Regions from separate parts of the Homo sapiens genome. Here regions 1, 2 and 4 are each linked to region 3. Evidence: promoter capture Hi-C in 16 types of primary human blood cells and fetal thymus (Javierre and others, 2016). All regions are on one chromosome and are shown on one strand. Each heading gives the region's core, a stretch centred on a gene start or on the middle of the fragment in contact. The rest is flanking DNA. Distances are from core to core; before and after follow the strand shown.

What was found. Contacts are between HindIII fragments. The CHiCAGO score rates a contact against its expected background, and 5 or more counts as called.
Region 1: a contact is called between a fragment that was not itself captured here and the fragment with the promoter of NOC3L in region 3, in 6 of 17 cell types (naive CD8 T cells, total CD8 T cells, activated CD4 T cells and 3 more). The highest score is 11.9, in naive CD8 T cells.
Region 2: a contact is called between a fragment that was not itself captured here and the fragment with the promoter of NOC3L in region 3, in 2 of 17 cell types (activated CD4 T cells and total CD8 T cells). The highest score is 9.1, in activated CD4 T cells.
Region 4: a contact is called between a fragment that was not itself captured here and the fragment with the promoter of NOC3L in region 3, in 1 of 17 cell types (non-activated CD4 T cells). The highest score is 5.4, in non-activated CD4 T cells.

What each region holds. Positions count from the first base shown.
Region 1 is chr10:92,844,550-92,847,249 of GRCh38, reverse strand. It overlaps a transcript of EXOC6 not described here. Among named protein-coding and RNA genes, the nearest start is that of EXOC6, 2.6 kb to the left of the region's middle. The HindIII fragment of the contact is 3,318 bases long and covers 1-2,700 here.
Region 2 is chr10:96,089,073-96,091,851 of GRCh38, reverse strand. ENTPD1-AS1 (ENTPD1 antisense RNA 1) reads left to right here and starts at 1,617. Exons shown (of 6, transcript NR_038444.1): 1 at 1,617-1,870; 2 at 2,545-2,586. RefSeq lists enhancers at 1,468-1,517, 1,528-1,897. The HindIII fragment of the contact is 2,317 bases long and covers 179-2,495 here.
Region 3 is chr10:94,361,580-94,364,279 of GRCh38, reverse strand. It overlaps NOC3L (NOC3 like DNA replication regulator), which reads left to right and starts at 1,341. Exons shown (of 21, transcript NM_022451.11): 1 at 1,341-1,450; 2 at 2,408-2,615. The coding sequence starts at 1,442. RefSeq lists a silencer at 1,138-1,267 and an enhancer at 1,408-1,667. The HindIII fragment of the contact is 1,523 bases long and covers 913-2,435 here.
Region 4 is chr10:96,131,540-96,134,239 of GRCh38, reverse strand. ZNF518A (zinc finger protein 518A) reads right to left here. Exons shown (of 6, transcript NM_001330736.2): 2 at 1,570-1,654; 3 at 592-657. It overlaps LOC124902486 (a long non-coding RNA gene), which reads left to right. Exons shown (of 2, transcript XR_007062254.1): 2 at 1-2,700. Among named protein-coding and RNA genes, the nearest start is that of ZNF518A, 2.6 kb to the right of the region's middle. The HindIII fragment of the contact is 1,095 bases long and covers 756-1,850 here.

The sequences.
Region 1 (2,700 bases), core at 142-2,641, 1.5 Mb after region 3:
TCATATTGCTGTCCCATGGTGTATGAGTTTTCCATTGTTGCTTTAACAAATCACCACAAATTGAGTAGCTTAAAATGACTCAGACATATTATCTTACAGTTCTGTACGTTAGAAGTCTGTCACAGGTCTCACTGGGCTAAAAATCAAGGTGTCAGCATGTCTGTGTTCCTTGCTAGAGACTCTGCGGGAGAATTTGTTTCTTTGCCTTTTCCAGCTTCTAGAGGCCACCCACATACCTTGGCTTGTGGCCCCCTTCCTCCATCTTCAAAGCTAGCAGCATTACATCTCTCTGACCATTCTTCTGTGGTCACATCTTCCTCTGACTCTGACTTAGGCTGGAAAAGATGCTCAGTTTTTAAGGACCCATATGATTAGAGTGGACCCAACCATTTAATCCAGGATAATCTTCCATCTCAGGGTCCTTAACCTTAATCACATATGCAATACCCCCTTTGTCATGTAAAAATAACATATGCACAGGTTCCAGGGATTAGAATGTGAGCATCAGTGGGACCCACTGCCTACCAAACTTAGGAAGGGCCCTATAAAACATTGCTAATGCCCTCCTTCCTATTAATCTGGAATCTTCAGAGCAATGGATTCCAGCTATACACATCCATTGAGCTAAGACAGTCTTCCATTTCCTGCAGAGAGACCTAGCTTTTCATTCTTTTTGTGGGAGGGGATAAAATTTGTCTTCTTTTTTTTATGTTTCAGTTTCAATTTTCAAAAGGTTATTTTCCCCTCTCAAGAACTTCTTAGGTCGAGCACAGTGGCTCACACCTATAATCCCAGAGCTTTGGGAGGCTGAGGCAGGAGGATTGCTTGAGCCCAGGAGTTCGAGGCTGCGGTGAACTATGATAATGAGCAAAATGAGGAGAGCAGGGCATGTGGCACAGGCCAGTTTCCTATTTGACCAATGTCTCCAGCTGGGGAATTACTTTCCTGATCATTCCTTCCCTAGAACTCTACCCCTTTTCTTCACCAGTCCTGATACCTTTTATTCCAAAGCTGGCTCCAAGTGCCCCTGCTCTGGGAAACCAGCCCTGCTTAGGCACTCCTCAGGCCAGCCCTGTTTCAACACCTGCCCATAGAGATTACTTCAACATAAGCAGCAGTATCTTCCCCGAAATTCAAGTGAACATGGAAGGAAGTCCATTTACCACTTCTCCTTCTGAAACAGTTTTTGCTGGTTCCCTCTGAGACTTCTGACAGTTCCGTGAGTACCTGGAGGTTTTAGCTAAGAATTCAAAGCTAAATGTCCTAAATAACTAATTGCACATTTGTTTTGTTTGTTTGGTTGGTTTTTTCGAGACAGAGTTTCGCTTTTGTTACCCAGGCTGGGTAACAATGGCGTGATCTTGGCTCACTGCAACCTCCGCCTCCTGGGTTCAAGTGATTCTCCTGCCTCAGCCTCCGGAGTAGCTGGGATTACAGGCACGTGCCACCACGCCCAGCTAATTTTGTATTTTTAGTAGAGACTGGGTTTCTCCATGTTGGTCAGGCTGGTCTCAAACTCCCGACCTCAGGTGATCTGCCCGCCTCGGCCTCCTAAAGTGTTGGGATTACAGGCGTGAGCCACCGTCCCCGGCCCTAACTGTACATTTTAATCATGGACATAGATATATCAAATATGTCAATGTGGGGTGGGGGAAGCCTATCCAAGGGATAAATGATTTTTTTTTTTTTTTTTTTTTGAGATGGAGTCTCTCTCTGTTGCCCAGGCTGGAGTGCAGTGGTGCGATCTTGGCTCACTGCAACCTCTGCCTCCCGCTTTCAAGCGATTCTCCTGCCTCAGTCTCCTGAGTAGCTGGGATTACAGGTACATGTCACCACATCCAGCTAATTTTTGTATTTATAGTAGAGATGGGCTTTCACCATGTTGGCCAGGCTGGTCTCACACTCCTTCCCTAAAGTGATTGCCCTGACTTGGCCTTCTGAAGTGCTGGGATTACAGGCATGAGCCACCACGCCCAGCCCCAAGGAGTGAATGATTTAACGTCTGCACTGAGAAGGTTGCGGAGTAGCAGGGCACAGACAGGCAGATTGCAGATGCATGTGGAATTATTTTTTGGCAGTGGATATTGACTTCCAGAGATCAATCCAAAATCTCTTTTCAGGACTCCTGGAAGAAGAAAGATACACCAGGAAGACCAGCAGGACAGGAGATGCATTTTGTGTCCAGTATAAAAGTAATTGGCAAAGTAAGGATTTGACTTGTAAATAAACTCTTAGTCATTAGGAACTTAACTTTGCGCCTTTTATCTACAGACTAATGACCTGTCTTGGGAAAGCGCCTCCCTCAGAATGAGGTTGTAGAGTGCAACTGCTCTGGTCTGGCATTTAACTACTTGAATTCAAATTCCAACTCATCTCTTACTAGATGTCAGGCCTCAGGGAGTTACTTAACTTGACTAAGGCTCACGTTCTTCAAGTGTGAATTAAGGACAATAAGAATCCCTAGCTCACCAAATTATGTGAGGATTAAAGAAGATAATATATGTATTATGTTTAGCCTAGAGCTCAATCAACATTAGCATTGGCGACTAGGGTTATCAGGCATTTGCTAGTAAGCCAGAGAGCCCAGCATTTTAGCCTCCTCTTTGATAAAATAAAAATAAAAACCAGACACATAAATGTTCTTTTTCCTAATCATTAAAAAAAAACCTGATTGTGTATCAGGGTTTTCTGCATGTTTGG
Region 2 (2,779 bases), core at 88-2,587, 1.7 Mb before region 3:
CCCTGGAGTTCCAAAGTAACCCCAATATCACCATCTGTCTTTGTTCCTCCACATTTTCTTCTTCCCGTGATCCCTTCTCATTTTTCCTTTCTATCTTCTTTTACTTGTTTTGTCACTGCTTTAGAAGTCACTAATAAGCAATAGTGGGAAGTAGAGTATGTGAATAAAGAATGAAGCTTTCTTTGGCAGTCTGAAATAAATTGCTTAAAACTGTACCCCAAAGCAGCCAGAATAAAAATAGCTTTTTATATTTGTTCTCCACCATTTCAAGTATCCAAACGCCCCACATGACTTGACCCCTGCAACTTTGTTTTAGGGAAGACTTTTGGTGGTAGCATACTCTCATACGAAAGTGTGTGAAAAACATCAATTTGCTTTTTTACTTTTCCTGTGAGGATTATAGAACCAAAACAAAATATCGAAAATTTTGAGAATACACTGACTCACAAAAATCCAATGCTTTTCTAGTCAAACAGGATTTCTCTACGTGATTTGTATCAAGGACGGTCATTTATCAAAATGTGACAACATGCCTTTGCCGTCATTATAACAGCAGGCAATTAAAAATGTTTTTACCATAGCCAGTTTGCTTATTTTTCTATTTTAAAAGGGTTTTATAGCAGATATGCAAAAGAGAAAGCAGAGAGAAAAAAATAAAATCACTCTCTATTCAAACACTATCACTGTTAATTTTGATGTATTTCTTGTGTTTTTCTAGGCATAATTTGTTTTTACAAAAACATAGCCTTAGTGGCTAGTCCCACTTTATTATGTGAGTACTGGTCAATGCAGAAAGAAGACTAAACAAACTACAGATTGGTTTTCAGTCATATTCTAAAGAAACAGAAGCCAAACAAACACTTGGTCTGGTGGAAAGTCCAAGATTATGGTCCTTGGCCCTCTGTTAAGGCCAGCTAGAGTATCTGGTGATGGTGAGAGGCCTCCAACTGTCTTAGTCCTGGATTTAAAAGGGCCTAAACGGAGCTAAAATGTTCCCCAGAGCCTAGCAATCATTGACAGTTTCCTCAGGTAACCAGCGCTGCAGACGGAGAATGCTGCAAAGGCAAGGTGTCAGAAACCAATTGAAATCCGAGGTTCAGCCAAGGGGACCCAGGCACACACGTGGGCCTTGTGTTCACCATAAAGAGCATACTGGCTACAAGTTGGCCCCTCTCTGGGCAACAGAGTGCCTAACTTAAAGGGGCTTACGAGGATGCCATGCGCCAACAGCTCTGGTTTTACAAAATGGAGTCACCAGGGAGAACGCGGTGTCTGGGTTAGACCACGTTCACCAAGTACCAGCTATACGATCTCGGACAAATTTACTTGCCCTCTCTTAACCTTAGTTTCCCCATATATAAAATGTAAGTGATACATTTCTGACTGCTGGGATTGTAAGGAAGGGATTAAATGGCTTGCCAATGAGGTGTTCAGCACAATGCCTGCCTAACACGTAAAACGTGTTGGGGTTGGTTGGTTGTAAGACCCACAACCTCTCTCCCCACTCTACCCCCGCCCCGCCACCAGCAGCCCAGCTGCAGCCGCTTCCGGGAACCACTTCGCTTCGGTCTCCCACTGCCGAACGCGGATCCCTCCGCGTTGCGTCACTTCCGGGAGACTCTGGCCGCGGCGATTCAATATATCCGGAAGCAACTGTCATGGCTGCTGTCAGTGAGGGCCCGTAATGGAGATCGAGTCAAGGGTTGCCCAGGGACACTTAAGAGCCTTCGGCTTCAAGGAGGCCTCTCAAAGGACAAAGGATGAGACTGCCTGGCGGCAGAGTGCCCCCCACAATCGTAGGAACTGTGTCGCCGCGCTTCCCGTTAACTTGCCGCTAAGTTTTTCTAGAAAAGTCGCCCTTCTTGCCAGGGTGGGACCTCACTTCTGACCTAGCCCTTCTTTGTGTACCAAGTTTTTGTTTCCGTCATTTCCCGCAGCCCGGGAGCTCGGCGGGCGATACTGTGGTAGCCTGGGAGGAAGGGGCGGGCCGGATGCTGGAACCGAGAGAGGTGGGGCTCGTCGAGGAGTCACGGGCGGCCGAGGCTGGAGTCTCCTAAATGCAACCTTGAGCTGTTCCACCCTTTGGTGCTTGGTCTGTTAGCTCGAGGTGCTCCTCACCGTGGAGGCGTTTAGAGCTGGTCATAAGGCTCTTACCTGCTGACCCAACCACCCTCAACCACAGCTTGCCCTGCTCCAGATAGACTTTGATCCTAGAAAATATCTAAGATGGGTGTAGTGCAGTATGTTATTGTTTTAAGTCTCAAACATAAGCAAACTATTATTAAAAGTTTTAGAATTAATAGGCAGAGTTCACATATTGGGTCGTGTTATTGTTTTAAGGTTTAAATTTAGATAACATGTTAGTACTTGTTGAGATTTTAACAAAAGCATTAAAAAAATGAGAAAATAGATTAATCTTTAGAATATTTTAAGTTTGCTACTGCGCAGTGGTAACATGAAGACACCTCATAATAAGTCTTTGATTACCAGAAGCTTCTGAAAGTAAAATTATGGGTATATTAATGTGAGTTTTCCTCTCTGCAGGGTGTCCTATAGACTTTGTCATGGAGTGAAACAGAAACAAATGTGAGTTAATCATTAACATTTCCTAGTGGTTAAAATTACTTTTTAAGCGCTTAACTGTGTATTTTTTAGATTGAAGATTTCAAATGAAATTTTGATTTGACTGAAATATTTAATATGTGATGAGTTGATATTAAAATACAGAAGATTACTATTTTTATAGAAACAATAATGTAGAAACTAATATTTGAAGCAG
Region 3 (2,700 bases), core at 92-2,591:
ACTTTGATACTCTTATTCTTGCAATCCATAAAACTTCCTGTAAAAATGAACGACTTTAGGCGGGGCGCGGTGGCTCATGCCTGTTATCCCAGCACTTTGGGAGGCCAAGGTGGGCGAATCACGAGGTCAGGAGATCGAGACCATCCTGGCTAACACGGTGAAACCCCGTCTCTACTAAAAATACAAAAAAAATTAGCTGGGCGTGGTGGCGGGCGCCTGTAGTTCCAGTTACTCGGGAGGCTGAGGCAGGAGAATGGCGTGAACCCAGAAGGCAGAGCTTGCAATGAGCCCAGATTGCGCCACTGCACTCCAGCCTGGGCGCCAGAGCAAGACTCCGTCTCAAAAAACAAAAACAAAAAACGACTTTGGTGAAATTACTAAGCAGACAGAATTTACCCAAAGTTGTAAGATACTGAAATGCAGATACAGTTTTTTATTTTTATTTTTATTTTTTAGACAGTCTTGCTCTGTCACCCAGGCTGGAGTGCAGTGGTGTGATCTCGACTCACTGCAACCTCTGCCTCCTGGGTTCAAGCGATTCTCCTGCCTCAGCCTCCCGAGTAGCTAGGATTACAGGCGCACGCCACCATGTCTGGCTGATTTTTGTATTTTTAGTAGAGACAGGGTTTCACCATGTTGGCCAGGCTGGTCTCGAACTCCTGGAACTCAGGTGATCCACCCGCCTCTGCCTCCCTAAGTGCTGGGATTACAAGCGTGAACCACCGCACCCAGCCATGGATACAGTTCTTTATCAGCTAATGGTTAAAAATTAAAGCAAAAAAAAAATGCAAAATAAAACACTAAGAATCACAGACTTTTAAGTGACCAAGGCTGATGAGAAATCATTCGCCATGCTACAAACACGGCCAGAATGTCCGTCGAGGGGCAGGCATTACACACAAAAAATAAGCTTCTTTCTGCCCTCAGGACTGTATGGAGGAAAAAGACTACGAAAATCAGTATCTATAACAGCATGAGATAAGCAACGTGAGGAGAGGCACAAAATGCAATGAGGTGACCGAAAAAACCAAGTCCTCTCATTCTGAGAGGAGGAGCCCGATTTCCCCAAGGTTTTAAAAGAAATAAATAGGGCGAGAGTCAAAGAATCATACTCAGATAACCTTGCAAAATGCGCCCCTCCCGCCCGGCTTCCCGCCTTTGGCACCGACGCCCTCGGGGCTTCCCTCGTGCCAGTCCGCGCGCGCACGCCGGGGGGCAACCGGTCCAGGGCCGCGAGACAGTCACCGCGAGAGGGCGCGAGCCCGAACCTGTCTACGGAAGTCCCGCCCTCACTTCCGGCGGCGGAGGATTGGGAGGGACTGAAGGCCGTTTCCGGCTCTGGTAGTGTAGGGACTTCGGCACGTGTGTCATTCCCCGGGATTTCTGTAGTAACCCTGCTTCTGGTGAACTTGTCTGGCCGGCATTCATTTAAGGCCTAAGGATGAAGGCGGTAAGTGTCCTCAAAAGCCCGGTCGCCGCGGCCTAGGGCCCCTTCGGGTGATAGAGTCACTGCCTGAGTTAGCTTTTAGGCAGGTTTTCACCCGTGTCTAGGGGGCGGTGGTTTAGACTGGGGGCTTTCCATTCCTTACACCGAGCTCATCCTTGGTTACCCACTGTGTGCGCGCACCACTTCAGAGTATCACGAAGAGACAGGCACGGAGTTTTGCATGCGTGGGATTTCATACTTTGAAGGAATTTTTCAAGACCGTCTTTCGAACTCGTTTTTCACAAATGAGAAGCAGGGTCCTACCCTCAGCGAGTTTATAATGTGAGTCACGGTACCCATGAAGGGTAAAGAGATAGAAAAGCAAGTGATTTGTCCTGGTTCTCCCAGAAAATAAGAGGTAGTCCTGGGGTTCAGGACTAACTTTGGGATTTCTGAATGAGTCACCAGCAAGAGAAGTGGAATCCAAAGATCCGAATTCAGTTTTGCCCTCCTTAGTTTATGGGTCTTTTGGCAGCTTCATCAGTAATGTGAGGATAACAGCAGTCAGTACTCAACTAGGCTGTTAGAGGTGATTTGTTGGAGCACTTTGTAAGTAATAAAATCGTAGATAAATGTAAGTTTTATTAAAGACAGCCAGCATTTTGCTTTGAATGTGTTAAACTACAGGTGTGTTAAACTAGCCTTGAATAGCCACTTACCACTACTAGATCAGTGGTTCTTAACCTGTTTGGGGATCGTAGAACCCTTTGAATTGCTGTGAATTGGGATTGAATAACTGATGCTGTAGCGCTCTTCTGTAGGATTAAAGCCATCGTTTGGTTTTAGCTTTTATATGCAAGTCTGTGGCTGTGGGACATTGAAATTGTGGAATTGGTCTAATGAAATTTGTAATCAGTTCTCTTTAACCTGATTTAAAAAATAAGTTTCTGGGTATGCAGTATTCTTTCTGTTATTTTCTAGAGAAGAAATAAAAAACAGATCCCAAGCTTTCGCAAGTTAATAAAAACTAGTAAAGTCAAACTTGAAAACAAGCTAAAAAATAAGCAGTTTAAACAACAAAGCACTCTCAAGAAGTACCGAAAAGAACAGAGGAAACTAAGGCAAGCTGTGAAAGATGCTGTGTCTAAGAAACCCATTCCATTGGAGAACCCAAAGGAAAAGCGACCAGGTAATTGTGAAAACATCATGTGCTCTGGTTTCCATTGATTTATTCTGAAGTGTTCTTCATGGAAATAACTTTGCTTTCTAGTAAT
Region 4 (2,700 bases), core at 54-2,553, 1.8 Mb before region 3:
AAACAAAACAAAACAAAAAAGCTTGGAACCAGAAGTGTTTCAGATTTCAGATTTTTGTGGATTTTGGAATATTTGCATTACTTACTGGCTGAATATCCAAAATCCAAAATGTTCCAGTGATGATTGCCTTTGAGCTTCATGTCAGCACTCAAAAAGTTTCAGATTTTGGAGTATTTTAGATTTCAGGCTTTTAGATTTGGGATGCTCAACCTTTAGGAAAATTCTTAGCATTCAGAATTACTTTATCTCTTCAGGAATAACACAGTACCCATGTGAATCTCGTGGTAGGAAGTCAAACAAATATTATATAGGAAAAAGTTACTTAATGACATAAACGATAACGTGGTACCTCAACTCAGCTCTACTGCTCTCTACTCAATGTACATTATTTTCTGACAAAATAAAAATTCATGCCTTTGTAAAAAAATGGCCCTGAACAGAAATCCATTTGCTGGTGAAGTTCAGGGAAGAACACGGTTATTATGATAATTAAAGCAATACTGTAAGGTGGTATAGTCTATGTCAGCTATTTCAGCAGTTACATAAATAATCTTATTCCTAATTTACGGTCATACTTATGTGTATACTTACTGCATTTAGAGGAATTTTATGATACTGTGGTATCCAAGAATCTTAGCATTTCAAAGATCCCAGGACCTATCCAACACAAAGAGTAGGAGACATCTGTGTTTTGAGGGTAGAAAAAACATGTTTTTTTACATGGGTACAATATTTTCCACTACATTTCCAAAGCTTTCCTTATAATACCATAGATTTGTTGGCATATTTTTCCTCCTTTTTTGTCTACACCCAGACATTCACATGACTGTCTTCAAGAAACCAATCATAACACTATAGTGATTCCCAAGTCCCTTTCCTGATTCATAATGAAGATGCTATTAGTCATAATATAAACACATATCAGATAATTTTTCTTTAGGTACATTGCTTTGCACTTACTAGACCAAAACCACAATCTTCTGGCCATTCATATAGCTTTGAAACATCTATCTACCACCTTTATCTCCACTGTTCATTACCCAGAAGACTTTAATGCCACTTTTCTATTCAGAAGGATGATAGTTAAAGTTATATTTGGATTTCTAATAAAATGTTAAGTAATAAACTATGAAACCAAAAATTACTTTTTTTGCTTAGATTAAAATGAAAACTCATGTTTAAGTATTTTATTTTAGCCAAAAAATAAAATAAAACTATAACTTATATAACTTATGAAAACTCATGTATATGTAAAACTACAGGTTGAGTGTCTCTTATTTGAAATGCTTGGGAACAGAAGGGTTTCATTCTTTTTTTCTTTTTCTTTTTTAGGATTTTAGAGTATTTGCATTATACCAGTTGAGCATCTCAAATCCAAAAATTCAAAATCCAAAATGTTCCAAAGAGCATTTCCTTTGACCATCATGTCAGCACTCAAAAAATTTTGCATTCTGGATTTTTGGATTTGGGATACTTAACCTATATTTTACTTTATTTAGTCCAATATTAAAACATACCAACTTACTACTTAATAGACTATATACTCCAGTATTTCAATCTTTACCATACCTCTTTCTTCAGGAACAAAAGGCACACAATTTAACACTTGCACAATGTCACAATCAGGAACAGTGATCAAAAGAAGAGATGATATCTGGAAATGAAGACCAAGATTTTAAAACTTTTGACGACAAAAACTGTTCAATTACACTTCACATTCAACTTAGGTGTATAAAGAAATGTAAAAAAAAAAAAAAAAAACTAAGAAAAAACTTCTATACACTTAAGCATACATCATTGATGACCAGTGATAACATGTCACAAATTTGCAAAAGTCACAACCTAAAGCTTAGAATCAATCTAACTCAGTATCTTCATTTATTACAAGAAAAAGAAAATGAGCCTTGCCCAAAGTCACAAAACTAGAAATAATATCTGGATCCGGTTCCAATTCAGTTATCCTACCACCACAATACTAACCCTTAATACTCATTTCTGGTATCTAATATGCCATGAAAACTGCTCACCATGAGAAGCCAATACCCCATATAGAACTGAAATACTCACAGCCTACACACCTGGGACCAGATAATAAATAAAAATTTCAAGACGGTGTTAAAACCTTTTTGTTCTGCTAATAGCACTTTGCCACAAAACCTTCAGTAGCATACCTGAAGGAATGTGGGCAAGATTCAAGTCTCCTATCATTTAAAGAAAAAAAAAAAAAGTAGTATTAAGTGCTCTAAAGTATGCAATGTCACAATGCCTCAATGAGAACAATTCTAAACAACTATAAACAGAAAAGTAAACAACAAAAATACACTTAAAGGGCATTTAAAGCATATCCTGAAGTCAAATTATAGATCTAGGCTAAAGTATAGTCCCTCTGTAATATTTCAAAATATAGAAACTTCTGGGATTACAGCATACTATTACCAGAGAGACTAGAACAGAATCCGAAGTGTGACCATGGCAAAAAATTGAAGCATTTAAAAGTTCATACATTATCAATGCACACAGTGGGTGTTCATTGTGGTTACTGTCTTTTGTCCTTCCATAAAACCAGATATAAAACGTTTTATTTGGTAATTATACTTATTTTCACGCAACAAACAGGAAACATTTGGTTGTGTAACATACCTACATTTTATTCTCCCCTTTTGTTGGCAATTTTCTGTATCTAGGGATGATCTAATTTAC